2 separate regions of the Homo sapiens genome follow, and region 1 is linked to region 2. Evidence: promoter capture Hi-C in human tissues and cell types (Jung and others, 2019). All regions are on one chromosome and are shown on one strand. Each heading gives the region's core, a stretch centred on a gene start or on the middle of the fragment in contact. The rest is flanking DNA. Distances are from core to core; before and after follow the strand shown.

Region 1 (7,078 bases), core at 955-3,454, 300 kb before region 2:
CACCTGTCGCCTCTTGTGTCTGTTTCCCTCTCTCTCTCTGGGTCTCTGTCCCCCTCTCTTTCTGGGTCTCTTGTCTCTCTCTCTCTGGGTCTCTGTCCCCCCCCCCCCGGGTTTCTGTCCCCTCTCTCTGAATCTGTCCCCCTCCCTCCATAATAGATTCTTCTCCCTCCCTGGGTATCTGTCCCACTGCAGTCTAGTTCCCCGCCCGTGTGCTCCCTTCAGCTCTGTTTCTGTCTGCAGAAAGCCACCTCTCCCTCCTGTACCACCTTACCGCGGTGTCCTCGCCTGCCCCGGGGACTCCTGCCTTCTGGGTGTCCGGCTGGCTGGGCCCGCAGCAGTACCTGAGCTACAATAGCCTGCGGGGCGAGGCGGAGCCCTGTGGAGCTTGGGTCTGGGAAAACCAGGTGTCCTGGTATTGGGAGAAAGAGACCACAGATCTGAGGATCAAGGAGAAGCTCTTTCTGGAAGCTTTCAAAGCTTTGGGGGGAAAAGGTGAGATTCCGGTCTGGAGGGGCAAGGGGCCGGGTCCATGCTCCGGGGCCCCGCTTACCTGTGTTTGGGCGCCCCAGGTCCCTACACTCTGCAGGGCCTGCTGGGCTGTGAACTGGGCCCTGACAACACCTCGGTGCCCACCGCCAAGTTCGCCCTGAACGGCGAGGAGTTCATGAATTTCGACCTCAAGCAGGGCACCTGGGGTGGGGACTGGCCCGAGGCCCTGGCTATCAGTCAGCGGTGGCAGCAGCAGGACAAGGCGGCCAACAAGGAGCTCACCTTCCTGCTATTCTCCTGCCCGCACCGCCTGCGGGAGCACCTGGAGAGGGGCCGCGGAAACCTGGAGTGGAAGGGTGAGCCGGATCTGCAGCCGCAGGCTGTTCTGTCCTCTCTCCCGTCATGCCCACCTGCCTCAGTTCCCCTGCCAGGACCCTCCATCAGCCTCCCACTGCAGCCCACGCTCTGCCCCCCCATTCCTCAGGGGTCCTTCTACACTCAGCCCTCCCATGGCTCCCCAGCGCCCCCCAGGACAAACTCCTGGCTTCCTTCCTTGCCTTCTTTTTTTTTTTTTTTTTGTGAGACGGAGTTTCGCTCTTGTTGCCCAGGCTGGAGTGTAATGGCGCGATCTCGGCTCACCACAACCTCCGCCTCCCGGGTTCAAGTGATCTCCTGCCTCAGCCTCCCGAGTGGCTGGGATTACAGGCATGCACCACCATGCCCGGCTAATTTTGTATTTTTAGTAGAGACGGGGTTTCTTCATGTTGGTCAGGCTGGTCTCAAACCCCTGACCTCAGGTGATCCGCCCACCTCAGCCTCCCAAAGTGCTGGGATTACAGGCATGAGCTACTGCTCCTGGCTCCCCCCTTTTTTTTTTTTTTGAGACAGATTCTCGCTCTGTCACCCCAGGCTGGAATGTGGTGGCACCATCTCGGCTCACTGCAGCCTGAACCTCCCAGGCTCAAGCAGTCCTCCCACCTCAGCCAACCAAGTAGCTGGGACCACAGCCCAGCATCATCACACCTGGCTAACTTTATATTTTGTAGACACGGTGTCTCACTATGTTGCCCAGGCTGGTCTTGAACTCCTAGGCTCCAGCGATTCTCCTGCTTTGGTCTCCTGAGTAGCTGAGATTACAGGTGCATACCACCATAACTGGCTAATTTTTTTTTTTCCGCACAATCTCTGTTGCCCAGGCTAGTGTGAAGCAGGGTGATCTCAGCTCGCTGCAACCTCCGCCTCCTGGGTTTAAGGGATTCCGCTGCTTCAGCCTCATGAGTAGCTGGCACTATAGGCACATCCACCATGTCTGGCTAATTTTTATACTTTTAGTAGAGATGGGGTTTCGTCATGGTAGCTAGGCTGGTCTCAAACTCTTGACCTCAAGTGATCCACCCACCTCCGCCTCCCAAAGTGCTGGGATTACAGGAGTGAGCTACCGCGTCTGGCCATACCTGGCTAATTTTTAAAATTTGTTGTAGAGGTGGCATCTCACTATGCTGCCCAGGCCAGACTCAAACTCCTGGCCTCAAGTGATTCTCTCACTTTGGCCTCCCAGGGTGCTGGGATGACAGGTGTGAGCCACTGTGCTTGGCCTTCCTTGCCTTAATGTCCTCATCAGACCCACGCAGCAGCACTTGTCTCTACGCAGCCATCAGAGTCTACGCTCCAGCCACCCAACATAAGCAATCTCCTCCCTCTGGGCATTTGCTCATCCAGTTTCCCCTGGCACCTCTCTGTTCCACCCTTCCCCCTCTCTGCATATACTCCAGCCCTCCTTATTCTTCAAGGTCAGGGCTGGATATCACTTCCTCTGAGAAGCCTTTCCTCAGCTCTGTAGGGCAGAGTTCACTGTTTCCTCCCCGGAGGCCCCCAGATCCCCACTCATTCAACTGTTGGCCAAGAGCATTTGCACTGCCAGGCGCTGCTCTGGGCCTTGAGCAAAGAGGGAAGTGACACACATTCACCCTCTGTGGCTCCCAGGCTGCTGGACAAAGATAGATACCAGCTGGGGATGTGCACAGATATTCATTCCAAGTGCCACAAAGGAGAAGTTGAGACTCAACCAGGTAGTTTTTCTTTAATTGTCTTCTTTCTTTCCTAAGTAGGGAAAATTTCTTTCTTTTTTTGAGACAGAGTTTCGCTCTTGTCGCCCAGGCTGGAGTGCAATGGCGCGATCTCGGCTCACTGCAACCTCCGCCTCCCAGGTTCAAGTGATTCTCCTGCCTCAGCCTCCCGAGTAGCTGGGACTACAGGCGTGCACCACCACGCCTGGCTAATTTTTGTTTGTTTTTTTTTTTTTAGTAAAGACAGGGTTTTACCATGTTGGCCGGGATGGTCTCGATCTTTTGACCTCGTGATCTGCCTGCCTCGGCCTCCCAAAGTGCTGGAATTACAGACGTGAGCCACTGCTCCTGGCCTTTGTTGTTGTTGTTGTTGTTTTTGAGACAGACTCTTGCACTGTCGCCCAGACTGCAGTACTGTGGCGCAATCTTGGCTCACTGCAACCTCCGCCTCCCAGGTTCAAGCAATTCTCCTACCTCAGCCTCCCGAGTAGCTGGGATTACAGGCACACACCACCATGCCTGGCTAATTTTTGTATTTTTAGTAGAGACGGGGGCTTCACCATGCTGGCCAGGCTGGTCTCGAACTCCTGATCTCGTGATCTGCCTACCTTGGCCTCCCAAAGTGCTGGGATTACAGGCATGAGCCACCACTCCTGGCTTAAGGAGGGAAAGTTTCAAACCACACTTAAGTAGAAACAATAGTATAAAACGGACCAGACACGGTGGCTCACGCCTATAATCCCAGAACTTTGGGAGGCCGAGGCAGGTGGATTGCTTGATCCCAGGAGTTCAAGACCAGCCTGGGCAACATAGTAAGACCGCATCTCTACTAAAAACTCAAAAAATTAGCCTGGCATGGTGGTATGTGCCTCTAGTCCCAGCCACTGGGGAGGCTATGGCAGGAGGATCGCTTGAGCTCAGGAGTTTGAGGCTGTAGTGAACTGATTGCAACTCTGCACTCCAGCCCAGATGACAGAGCCAGACCCTGTCTCAAAAAGAAAAAAAATATGGTGGCCAGGTGCAGTGGCTCACGCCTGTAATTCCAACACTTTGGGAGGCCGAGGTGGGCAGATCACTTAAGGTCAGGAGTTTGAGATAAGCCTGGCCAACAGAGTGAAACCCCATCTCTACTAAACATACAAAAATTAGCCGGGTGCGGTGGTGGGTGCTTGTAATTCCAGCTATTCGGGAGGCTGAGGCAGGAGAATCACTTGATCCCGGGAAGCAGAGGTTGCAGTGAGCCGAGATCAAGCCACTGCACTCCAGCCTGGGCAACAAAGCAAGACTCTGTCTCAAAGAAAGAAGGAAAGAAAGAGAGAGGAGAGGGAGAGAGAAAGAGGAAGGAAAGGAAGGAAGGAAGGAAGGAAGCGAGCATCCCATCACTGAGACTTAATAATTATCAACCCATGGTTTTTTGAATTTCACGCACATCCTCACTCACTTCCCCACCCCACTTCACATCAAGCTTTGGTAAATCTCAGACATCACAGTGTTTTTTTCTTTGTTTGTTTGTATTTTGAGATGGAGTCTCACTCTGTCATGCGGGAGTGTAGTGGCTCAGTCTCGGCTCACTGCAAGCTTCGCCTCCCAGGTTCAAACAATTCTCCTGCCTCAGCCTCCTGAGTAGCTGGGATTACAGGTGCCCGCCACCTCGCCCAGCCAATTTTTGTATTTTTAGTAGAGATGAGGTTTCACCATATTGGCCAGGCTGGTCTTGAACTCCTGACCTCGTGATCCACCCACCTTGGCCTCCCAAAGTGCTGGGATTACAGGCATAAGCCACCGCGCCTGGCCAATTTTTGTATTTTTAGTAGAGACGGGATTTCACTATGTTGGCCAGGCTGGTCTCGAACCCTCCACCTCAAGTGATCTGCCCTCCTCAGCCTCCCAAAGTGCGGGAGTCACCGTGCCCAGCCAGACTGTTTTGTTGATAAGTCCTTTAGTATGTAACTCTACTAGGTAAGGGCATTTAAAAAAAATTAATACCAAAACCATCATCACACCTACAACCAATTAACTCTTTAATGGCATCAGATGTCCAGTTTTTGTTCCCATATTCCTGACTGTAAATGTTTTTTAAAGTTTGAATCAGCATCCAGCAAGGTCCACACATTTTGTTGTCTTTTCAGTGTCTTTTTCTGATTGTTGAATTTTTCTTTCTTTCTTTTTTTTTTTTTTTTTCCTTTTTGAGACAGGGTCTTGCTCTGTCACCAGACTGGAGTCCAGTGGTGCAATCATAGCTCACTGCAGTCTGAACTTCCTGGGCTCAAGTAATTCTCCCACTTCAGCCTCCCCAGTAGGTAGGACCACAGGTGCACGCCATCAGGCCTAGCTATTTTTGTTTGTTTGTTTTTTGAGACAAAGTCTTACTCTGTCGCCCAGACTGGAGTGCAGAGGCACGAACTCGGCTCACTGCAACTTCTGCCTCCCGGGTTCAAGCAATTCTCCTGCCTCAGCGTCCCAAGTAGCTGGGATTACAGGCGCAAGCCACCACGCCCTGCTAATTTTTTGTATCTTTAGTAGAGACAGAGTTTCACCATGTTGGCCAGGCTGGTTTCGAACTCCCGACCCCAGGTGATCCACCCACCTCGGCCTCCCAAAGTGCTGGGATTACAGGCGTGAGCCACCGCGCTCGGCCGTATTTTTGTTTTTTTCTTTTTTTTGGAGACGGAGTCTCGCTCTGTCACCCAGGCTGGGGTGCAGTGGCGCGATCTCAGCTCATTGCAACCTCCACCTCCCAAGTTGCACCAATTCTCCTGCCTCAGCCTCCCGAGTGGCTGGGACTACAGGCGCCCACCACCACGCCCGGCTAATTTTTTGTATTTTTAGTAGAGACAGAGTTTCACTGTGTTAGGCAGGATGGTCTCGATCTCCTGACCTCCTGATCCGCCTGCCTCAGCCTCCCAAAGTACTGGGATTACAGGCTTGAGCCACCGCGCCCGGCCGGATTCCAATTTTTTACCAGATAGGTGTTTTGCAAATATTTCTTCCACTCTCTAGGTTGTCTTTTCATTGTTTTAACTGTGCCTTTCACAAAGCAAAAGTTTTTAACTTTGATGAAATCCAGTTTATTCTTTTTTTTTTTTCTATCGTGGATTATGCTTTTGGTGTTTAATCTCAGAAGTAATCACCAAACCCAAAGTCAGCTAGATCTTCTCCTGTGTATTTTAAGAGTTTTAAAGTTTTGCATTTTACAGTTAGGTCTGTGATTCATTTTCAGGTAATTTGAGTTACTTGTGATCTTGAGTGTCTTTTGATTTACAGGTTTCCCATTTTCTTTTTGTTTTTTTTCCCCCTGTAATTGTGGTTTGAAGAAAGTCAGTTTATGTCCTATTGAGTTTCTCCTAGACTGGATTTTGCCCTTTGCATCCTGTGATGTTGCTGGAAATAGTCCTCCTTCTCTTCTTTAAAGGAGCAGCTCCATCTAGAAGCTTGGTCAGATTCTGGTTCAATTTTTATGGCAAGAAAACTTTCTGGGTAGTTGGTGCGTATGTCTGTGTGCATAGGCTGCAAACATCTGCTTGCTTCTGTGCTGTTCTGTGGACCACTGGATTCGGGTGTTGTTATGAAGTTCTTTGTCAGGTTTTCTCCTGATGGTTTTAGCGGATAGCAATGGCCATTGCCTTAATCTTTTTTTTTTTTTTTTTTTTTTGAGATGGAGTCTTGCTCTGTCGCCCAGGCTGGAGTGCAGTGTTGCGATCTTGGCTCACTGCAACCTCCGCCTCCCAGGTTCAAGCGATTCTGCTGCCTCAGCCTCCTGAGTAGCTGGGATTACAGGTGCGTGCCACCATGCCTGGCTAATTTTTGTATTTTTTTTGGAGAGATGGGGTTTCACTATGTTGGGCAGGCTGGTCTTGAACTCCTGACCTTGTGATCCACTTGCCTCGGCCTCCCAAAGTGCTGGGATTACAGGCGTGAGCCACCGCGCCCGGGCTTTTTTTTTTTTTTTTTTGAGAGGGCGTCTCCCTCTGTCACCAGGCTGGAGTGCAGTAGCACGATCTCGGCTCACTGCAACCTCCACCTCCCAGGTTCAAGTGATCCTCCTGCCTCAGCCTCCTTAGTAGCTGGAATTACAGGCACACACCACCACACCCAGCTAATTTTTGTATTTTTAGTACAGACAGGGTTTCACCATGTTGGCCAGGATGGATTTTTTTTTTTTTTTTGAGATGGAGTTTCACTCTTATTGCGCAGGCTGGAGTACAATGGCATGATCTCAGCTCACTGCAACCTCCGCCTCCTGGATTCAAGTGATCCTCCTGCCTCAGCCTCCAGGGTAGCTGGGACTACAGGCATGCGCTGCCATGCCTAGCTAATTTTTATATGTTTAGTAGAGATGGAGTTTCACCATGTTGGCGAAGCTGGTCTTGAACTCCTGACATCAGGTGATCTGCCTGCCTCAGCCTCCCAAAGTGCTGGGGTTACAGACGTGAGCCACCATGCCTGACCTGGTTTGGTATTTTGTTAAACAGAACCAAAGGCCAGACAGATTTTCTGTGCTTGGATTTAGTCTATATTGGAAG
Region 2 (6,912 bases), core at 700-3,199:
GTGATGCGCCCGCCTCTACCTCCCAAAGTGCTGGAATTACAGGCATGAGCCATCTCGCCCGGCCGAAGATTATGTTTTAAAATATTTACTGGCCATTCAAAATTTTGTGTGTGTGTTTGTGTGAAACTAGTCAGGTTTCTTTTTATTTATTTATTTTTATTTTTTTTGAGACGGAGTCTAACTCTGCCGCCCAGGCTGGAATGCAGTGGCACAATCTCAGTTGACTGCAACCTCCGCCTCCCGGGTTCAGGAGAATCTCCTGACTCAGCCTCCCAAGTAGCTGGGATTACAGACGCCCACCAGGACGGCTAATTTTTTTATTTTTAGTAGTTAGAAGGAGTTTCACCATGTTGGCCAGGCTGGTCTTGAACCCCTTACCTCGGGTGATCTGCCCGCCTTGGCCTCCCAAAGTGCTGGGATTACAAGCGTGAGCCACGGCGTCCGGCCCTGGTCAGGTTTCTTTCTATTAAAACAAATATAAAGTGGCAGGGCACGATGGCTAACACCTGGGATCGCTTTAGCCGAGGAGTTTGAGACACGCCAGAGCAACACAGTGAGACCCCATCTCTACAAAAAATTTAAAAATTAGCTGGAAGTGGTAGTGCGCGGCTGTGGTCCCAGCTGCTCCACAGGCTGAAGAGTGGCTCCAGTGCGAGTAGAGGCTGCCGTGAGCCAAGATTGGGCCACTGCACTTCAACCTGCACAACAGAAAGAGACCCTGCCTCAAAAAATAAAAATTAAAATTAAAAGATAATAGTAATGAAGTGTTTCTATTTTTCTATATTGTTATTCATCAGTAAGATTTATTTGCGTAGTACATTTCTGTCAACAAACACGCTAGAAAGATTTTCCCAGTTGGCCGTATATTTTTCAACTTGGTTTATACAGTCTTTTGGGAAAAATTAATGAAGACTACGTTTTCTAACTTTGCTGTAGTGCTAAGAAACTCCATGGCAGTCATTAAGATTTTTTCCCTTCAGATAGTTTTCGGGTTTCATTTGTTGCACTTACATTTTTAATCCACCTGGAATGTATTTACGTTCTAAGCCAGTTTCTGGCTCCTCTCCCAGAAAACAACGCTCAGGTGTTGCTTAGCAACCCGCACTTGGTTTGGTGTTCGGCTTCTTTTCGGGGGGGAAAACAACTGCCCTCCCTTCCAAGTTGAGGACGACCTTAAAGCGTCGCCTAGTAACCTCGTTTCCGCCGATGTGATTGGATCCTTCTCGCGTCCCTCCCCTAGTCCCCACGCCCGAAAGAACAGAACCAGAAACTTAATCTAACGGTTACAAAACAAGGGCAGCGGGCCCGGCGCGGTGGCTCACGCCTGTAATCTCAGCACTTTGGGAAGCCAAGGCGGGCGAATCACTTGAGGTCAGGAGTTCGAGAACAGCCTGGCCCACAGGGTGAAACTCTTTCTCTACTAAAAATACAAAAATTAGCGGGGCGTGGTTGCGGGCACCTGTAATCCCAGCTACTCGGGAGGCTGAGGCAGGAGAATCGCTTGAACCCGGGAAGCGGAGGTTGTAGTGAGCCGAGATCGCGCCACTGCACTCCAGCCTGGGCGACAGGGCGAGACTCCCGTTTCGAAAAAACAAACAAACAAAAAACAAAACACAAAAACGAAAACAAGGGCAGCGTACGCGTTGCATAGCAACCAGGTCTCCTGCCCCTCCCTTTGAGACAAGAGGCGGACCTGGACGCCCCGCTCAAAGATGGCGGCTGACTGAGCCGCTTTCAATTTATTTAGCTTTTGACAATAATTCCGTCTAACCCATCAGGCCCCTAGAAGGGCTAACTATGCCCTTTCTGAGTCTTCCACGCGGTGGGGGCGAAGGAGGATGGAGCTAGAACGAAGCCTCAGCGCGTGCCCCGCACAAACATGGCAGCATTCCCAGCAGCCCTAAACCGCCCGACGCGAGCGCGCGCGCGGCGCAGGCGCATTTCTGCTCATTCCGCGGCGTCGGCTGCGGCTGCAGTGGTGGTGGCGGGTACCGCACGGGGTATGGTCCCCGGGTCCGAGGGCCCGGCCCGCGCCGGGAGCGTGGTGGCCGACGTGGTGTTTGTGATTGAGGGTACGGCCAACCTGGGACCCTACTTCGAGGGGCTCCGCAAGCACTACCTGCTCCCGGCCATCGAGTGAGTGCTGTTTCCGCGACTCTAACCCCGCCCTCCCACTTCAGTTTCGCACAGTTTCTTGCCTGACTCCGACCTTTCACTTCCTACCCTCACAGGTATTTTAATGGTGGTCCTCCTGCTGAGACGGACTTCGGGGGAGACGTGAGTCTAGGGACTCCTGGGCCTGAGGGAGGAGGGGCCGGGGGCCTGGACTCCTGGGTCTGAGGGAGGGAGAAAGGGCTGGGCCTGGACTCCTGAGTTTGAGGGAGGAGGGGCTGGGGGTCTGGACTCCTTGTTCTGAGGGAGGAGGGCCTGGGGGCCTGGACTCCTGGGTCTGAGGGTGGAGGCGCTGGGGCCCGGATTCCTGGGTCCGAGGGAGGAGGGAGCTAGGGGCCCAGATCCCTGGGTCTGAGGGAGGAAGGGCTGGGCGTCTGGACTGCTGGGTCTGAGAAAGGAGGAGCTGAGGCCTGGATTCCTGGGTCTGAGGGAGGAGGTGCTGGGGCCTGGGCTCCTGGGTCTGAGGGAGGAGGGGCCGGGGGCCTGGATTCCTGGGTCTGAGGGAGAAGGGGCTGGGGCCGAGATTGCTGGGTCTGAGGAAGGAGGAAGCTGAGGAGTTCCTGGTTCTGGAGGAACGGGAAGCTGGGAGCCCTGATTCCTTCTCTAAGGGAAAAGGGAATTGAGGTCCCAGATTAAAAGTTTTCTGTCCTCCCCTCCCAGTATGGGGGGACCCAGTACAGCCTCGTGGTGTTCAACACAGTGGACTGCGCTCCCGAGTCCTACGTACAATGTCACGCTCCCACCAGCAGCGCCTATGAGTTTGTCACCTGGCTCGATGGCATTAAGTGAGCTTTCCCCCACTTGGGGTGGGTTGCTGGTCCCTGTGAGGGGCCGTGAATGAGTGATGGCTTGGGGTGGTTGGTGTCCCCGTGAGAGGCTGTGAATAAGTGATGGCTTGGGGTGGTTGGTGTCCCCGTGAGGGGCTGTGAATAAGTAATGGCTTGGGGTGGTTGGGGTCCCTGCGAGGGGCCGTGAATGAGCGATGGCTTGGGTTTGAGCTGCAGGAAACATCTCATACATTAAGGGATTGAAAGGACTTTGAGGGTGATTGTGTTTTTGTCAGAAGTCACTTTTGTGGTGGCTTCTGTGTGCTCAGCAATGTTGCCATCAGTTTAGAAGTAGGAAAAACCTTCCCATTCAGGGAGGCCTGGCTGAGCTCCAGCAGCCACCTTGTACTCCCTGTGTGATTGTCCCCTTTCTGTCCTCTCTTTTTCCGTCTACCCCTGTCCTCCTTTTCCAGATGGGTACATTGTAGCCTCAGTGCAGGGGGATGGGTCAGAGCCAGGATAGATCCCTCTGTGGCTTGGGTCAGAATTTTTTTTTTTTTTTTTGAAACAGTGTCTTGCTCTGTCTCCCAGGCTTGTAGTGCAGTGGCACAGTCGTGGCTCACTGCAACCTGTACCTCCTGGGTTGAAGCGATTCTTCTGCCTCAGCCTCCCAAGTAGCTGGGATTACAGGCACACGCCACTATGCCCAGCTAATTTTTTTTTTTTTTTTTGTATTTTTAGTAGAGACAGTTTCACTGTGTTGGCCAGGCTGGTCTCAAACTCCTGACCTCATGTGATCTGCCTGCCTCAGCCTCCCAAAGTGCTGGGATTATAGGGGTGAGCCACTGTTGCGGGATTCAGGACGACAGGAGAGAGCCCTCGGGTTAAAGCAGGAGAATCTTTCATTGAGTGCACTCAGGCCCAAGCCGACTCACGTCCAAAGACGGCCCAGAACAAAGGTAGCACTTGACTTTTATACACACTTCACAAAAGGGGGTGGGCTAGCTTGAAGCAAGCTTACAGTGGCGTGACAGCAGGGATACAGAGGCAGAACAAAAACAGTTAATCAAATTGTTGTAACAGGTTTATAACTCAGGATTGCACATAACCGTTGCTATGCAACCCAGATGTCCCTTATCTAGGTTAGCCTAGGCACGGGCTTATCCCATAACCTTCACTGTGGTGCCCAGGCAGCTCAGGCTTCTCATGACCTTCGCTGTACTTCTTAGATAAAACAGAATACTTGAAGTCATGAGTTACAGAGAACAGGAATCTATAAACTCATTCCATAAAACAAAGGAAAATTTGTTTTTTCTTCTCTCTATGTTGAGGGAGTGCTGGGAGAGTCTCCAAGAGCACTTTAGATAGTATTATCAAGACTTTTCCTGGGTCTGGGCTGTGCCCATTGCTGCCTCTCAGACAAGTCAGCCTAATACATAGAACTTATTTCTCTTTTTAATTTTTTTTCTTTAATTTCCTGCCTCACCACCACGCCTGGCGCTGGATCGGATTTTGATAGTTGACATTGTAGAGTCTGGAGTCAGGCAGACGGGTTAAATCCTGGCTCTTCCAGCACAGAACTAACTCTCAGACCCAGGAGTCTGTCCCCTCTGTGCCTAGTATCTCACTTGTGAAGTGGGGATGTGGATAGTACTTGTATTAGTATTTCATTGTATTACTTATTCTTAGCTGTATAATAGATTACCACCAAATAATGGCTGCATACTGCAAACATTTATTATCTAACGCAGTTTCTGTGAGTCAAGGACACAAGAGTGGCTTGGCTGGATGGTTGGGCTGAGGGTCTCACAAGGCAATAGTCAGGAGGTCGGCAGGATTGCAGCCATCCAGGGGTTTGACTGGTGGTGGGGAATCCGTTCCCAAGGTGGCGAGTCTGTGGCTGTTGGCCACAAGACCTCTCCACAGGGCTGGTTGACTGTCTAACATGGCAACTGGCATTCCTCAGATTGAGGGACCCAATAGAGAGAGCAAAGAGGAAGCCCCAGGCCTCTCTTGTTTTTGAGGAAGGGTCTCACTCTGTCACGCAGGCTGGAGTGCAGTGGCTCAGTCACGGCTCACTGCAGCCTCGACCTCCTGGGCTCAAGCTCAAGCGATCCTCCCATCTCAGCTTCCCGAGTAGCTGGAGTAGCAGGGACGGTAGCCAAATGCCAGCACACCTGGCTGATTTCTTAAAAATATTTTTGTAGGTCGGGCGTGGTGGCTCACGCCTGTAATCCCAGCACTTTGGGAGGCTGGGGCAGGTGGATCACCTGAGGTCAGGAGTTCGAGACCAGCCTGTCCAACATGGTGAAACCCTGCCTCTACTAAAAATACAAGCAATCATCCTGCCTTGACCTCCCTAAGTGCTGGAGTGCTGAAATTACAGGCCTTAGCTGGGCATGGTGGCGCATGCCTGTAATCCCAGCTCTTGGGAGGCTGAGGCAGGAGAATTGCTTGAACCTGGGAGGTGGAGGTTGCAGTGAGCCGAGATCACACCATTGCACTCCAGCCTGGGCAACAAGAGTGAAATTCTGTCTCAAAAAAAAAAAAAAAAAAAAATTTTGTAGTGGCGGGGCACGGTGGCTCATCCCTGTAATCCCAGCACTTTGGGAGGCCAAGGCGGGCGAATCACCTGAGGTCAGGAGTTCGAGACCAGCCTGGCCAACATGGTGAAACCCCGTCTCTACAAAAAATACAAAAATTGGGCAGGCGTGGTGGCTCACGCCTGTAATCCCAGCACTTTGGGAGGCTGAGGCGGGTGGATGATGAGGTCAGGAGATGGAGACCATCCTGGCTAACACGGTGAAACCCCGTCTCTACTAAAAATACAAAAATTTAACCGGGCGCGGTGGCAGGCACCTGCAGTCCCAGCTACTCGGGAGGCTGAGGCAGGAGAATGGCGTGAACCCAGGAGGCGGAGTTTGCAGTGAGCCAAGATTGCACCACTGCACTCCAGCCTGGGCAACAGAGCAAGACTCTGTCTCAAAAAAAAAAAAAAAAAAAAAACCATACAAAAATTAATCAGGTGTGGTGGCATGTGCCTTGTAATCCTAGCTACTCAGGAGGCTGAGGCAGGAGAATCACTTCAAGCCAGGAGGTGGAGAGATCGCACCACTGCGCTCCAGCTTGGGTGACTGACTGACTGAGACCCTGTCTCAAAAAAAAATTGTTTTTTTTGTGGAGACAAGGTCCTGCAATGTTGCCCAGGCTGGTTTTGAACTCCTGGTCTCAAGTGATCCTCCACTTCAGTGTCCCTAAGTGCTGGGATTAGAGGCATGAGATGCTGCACCCAGAGGCCCCACTAGGCTCTTTGTAATCAAGTCTTGGAAGTTACACGTCATGTCATTATTTCTGTTACATTCTTTTTTTTTTTTTTTTTTTTTTTTTGAGACAGAGTCTCGCTCTGTTGTCCAGGCTGAAGTGCAGTGGTGCGATCTCAGCTCACTGCAAGCTCCGCCTCCCGAGTTCACGCCATTCTCCTGCCTCAGCCTCCTGAGTAGCTGGGACTACAGGTGCCCGCCACCACACCCAGCTAATTTTTTGTATTTTTAGTAGAGACAGGGTTTCACTGTGTTAGCCGGGATGGTCTCGGTCTCCTGACCTTGTGATCCACCCGCCTCGGCCTCCCAAAGTGCTGGGATTACAGGCGTGAGCCACCGCGCCTGGCCTACATTCTGTTTTTTAACCTGAGACAGGGTCTTGCTCTGTTGCCCAGATTGGAGTGCAGTGGTGGGATCATAGCTTGCTGCAGCCTCGACCTCTCGGGCTCAAGTGATCCTCCCACCTCAGCCTCCTGAGTACCTAGGACTGCAGGTGGGCACCACCATGCATGGCTGATTTCTTTATTTTAATTCTTGTAGAGATGAGGTCTTGCTGTGTTGCTCAGACTGGTCTTGAACTCCTGGCCTCAAGCGATCCTCCTGCCTTGACCTCCCTAAGTGCTGGAGTGCTGAGATCACAGGCCTGAGCTGCG

The links. The method cuts DNA at HindIII sites, captures the fragments that hold promoters and counts their contacts. A contact is called where the count stands out against the background at its distance.
Region 1: a contact is called between a fragment that was not itself captured here and the fragment with the promoter of MED25 in region 2, in 1 of the 25 tissues and cell types used here (lymphoblastoid cells).

What each region holds. Positions count from the first base shown.
Region 1 is chr19:49,513,642-49,520,719 of GRCh38, forward strand. It overlaps FCGRT (Fc gamma receptor and transporter), which reads left to right. Exons shown (of 7, transcript NM_001136019.3): 3 at 241-492; 4 at 570-845. Among named protein-coding and RNA genes, the nearest start is that of FCGRT, 4.5 kb to the left of the region's middle. RefSeq lists an enhancer at 530-1,243. The HindIII fragment of the contact is 5,709 bases long and covers 1-5,059 here.
Region 2 is chr19:49,816,340-49,823,251 of GRCh38, forward strand. MED25 (mediator complex subunit 25) reads left to right here and starts at 1,950. Exons shown (of 18, transcript NM_030973.4): 1 at 1,950-2,136; 2 at 2,232-2,277; 3 at 2,833-2,957. The coding sequence starts at 2,003. RefSeq lists an enhancer at 1,509-1,868 and silencers at 1,906-2,072, 1,999-2,158. The HindIII fragment of the contact is 7,641 bases long and covers 1-5,679 here.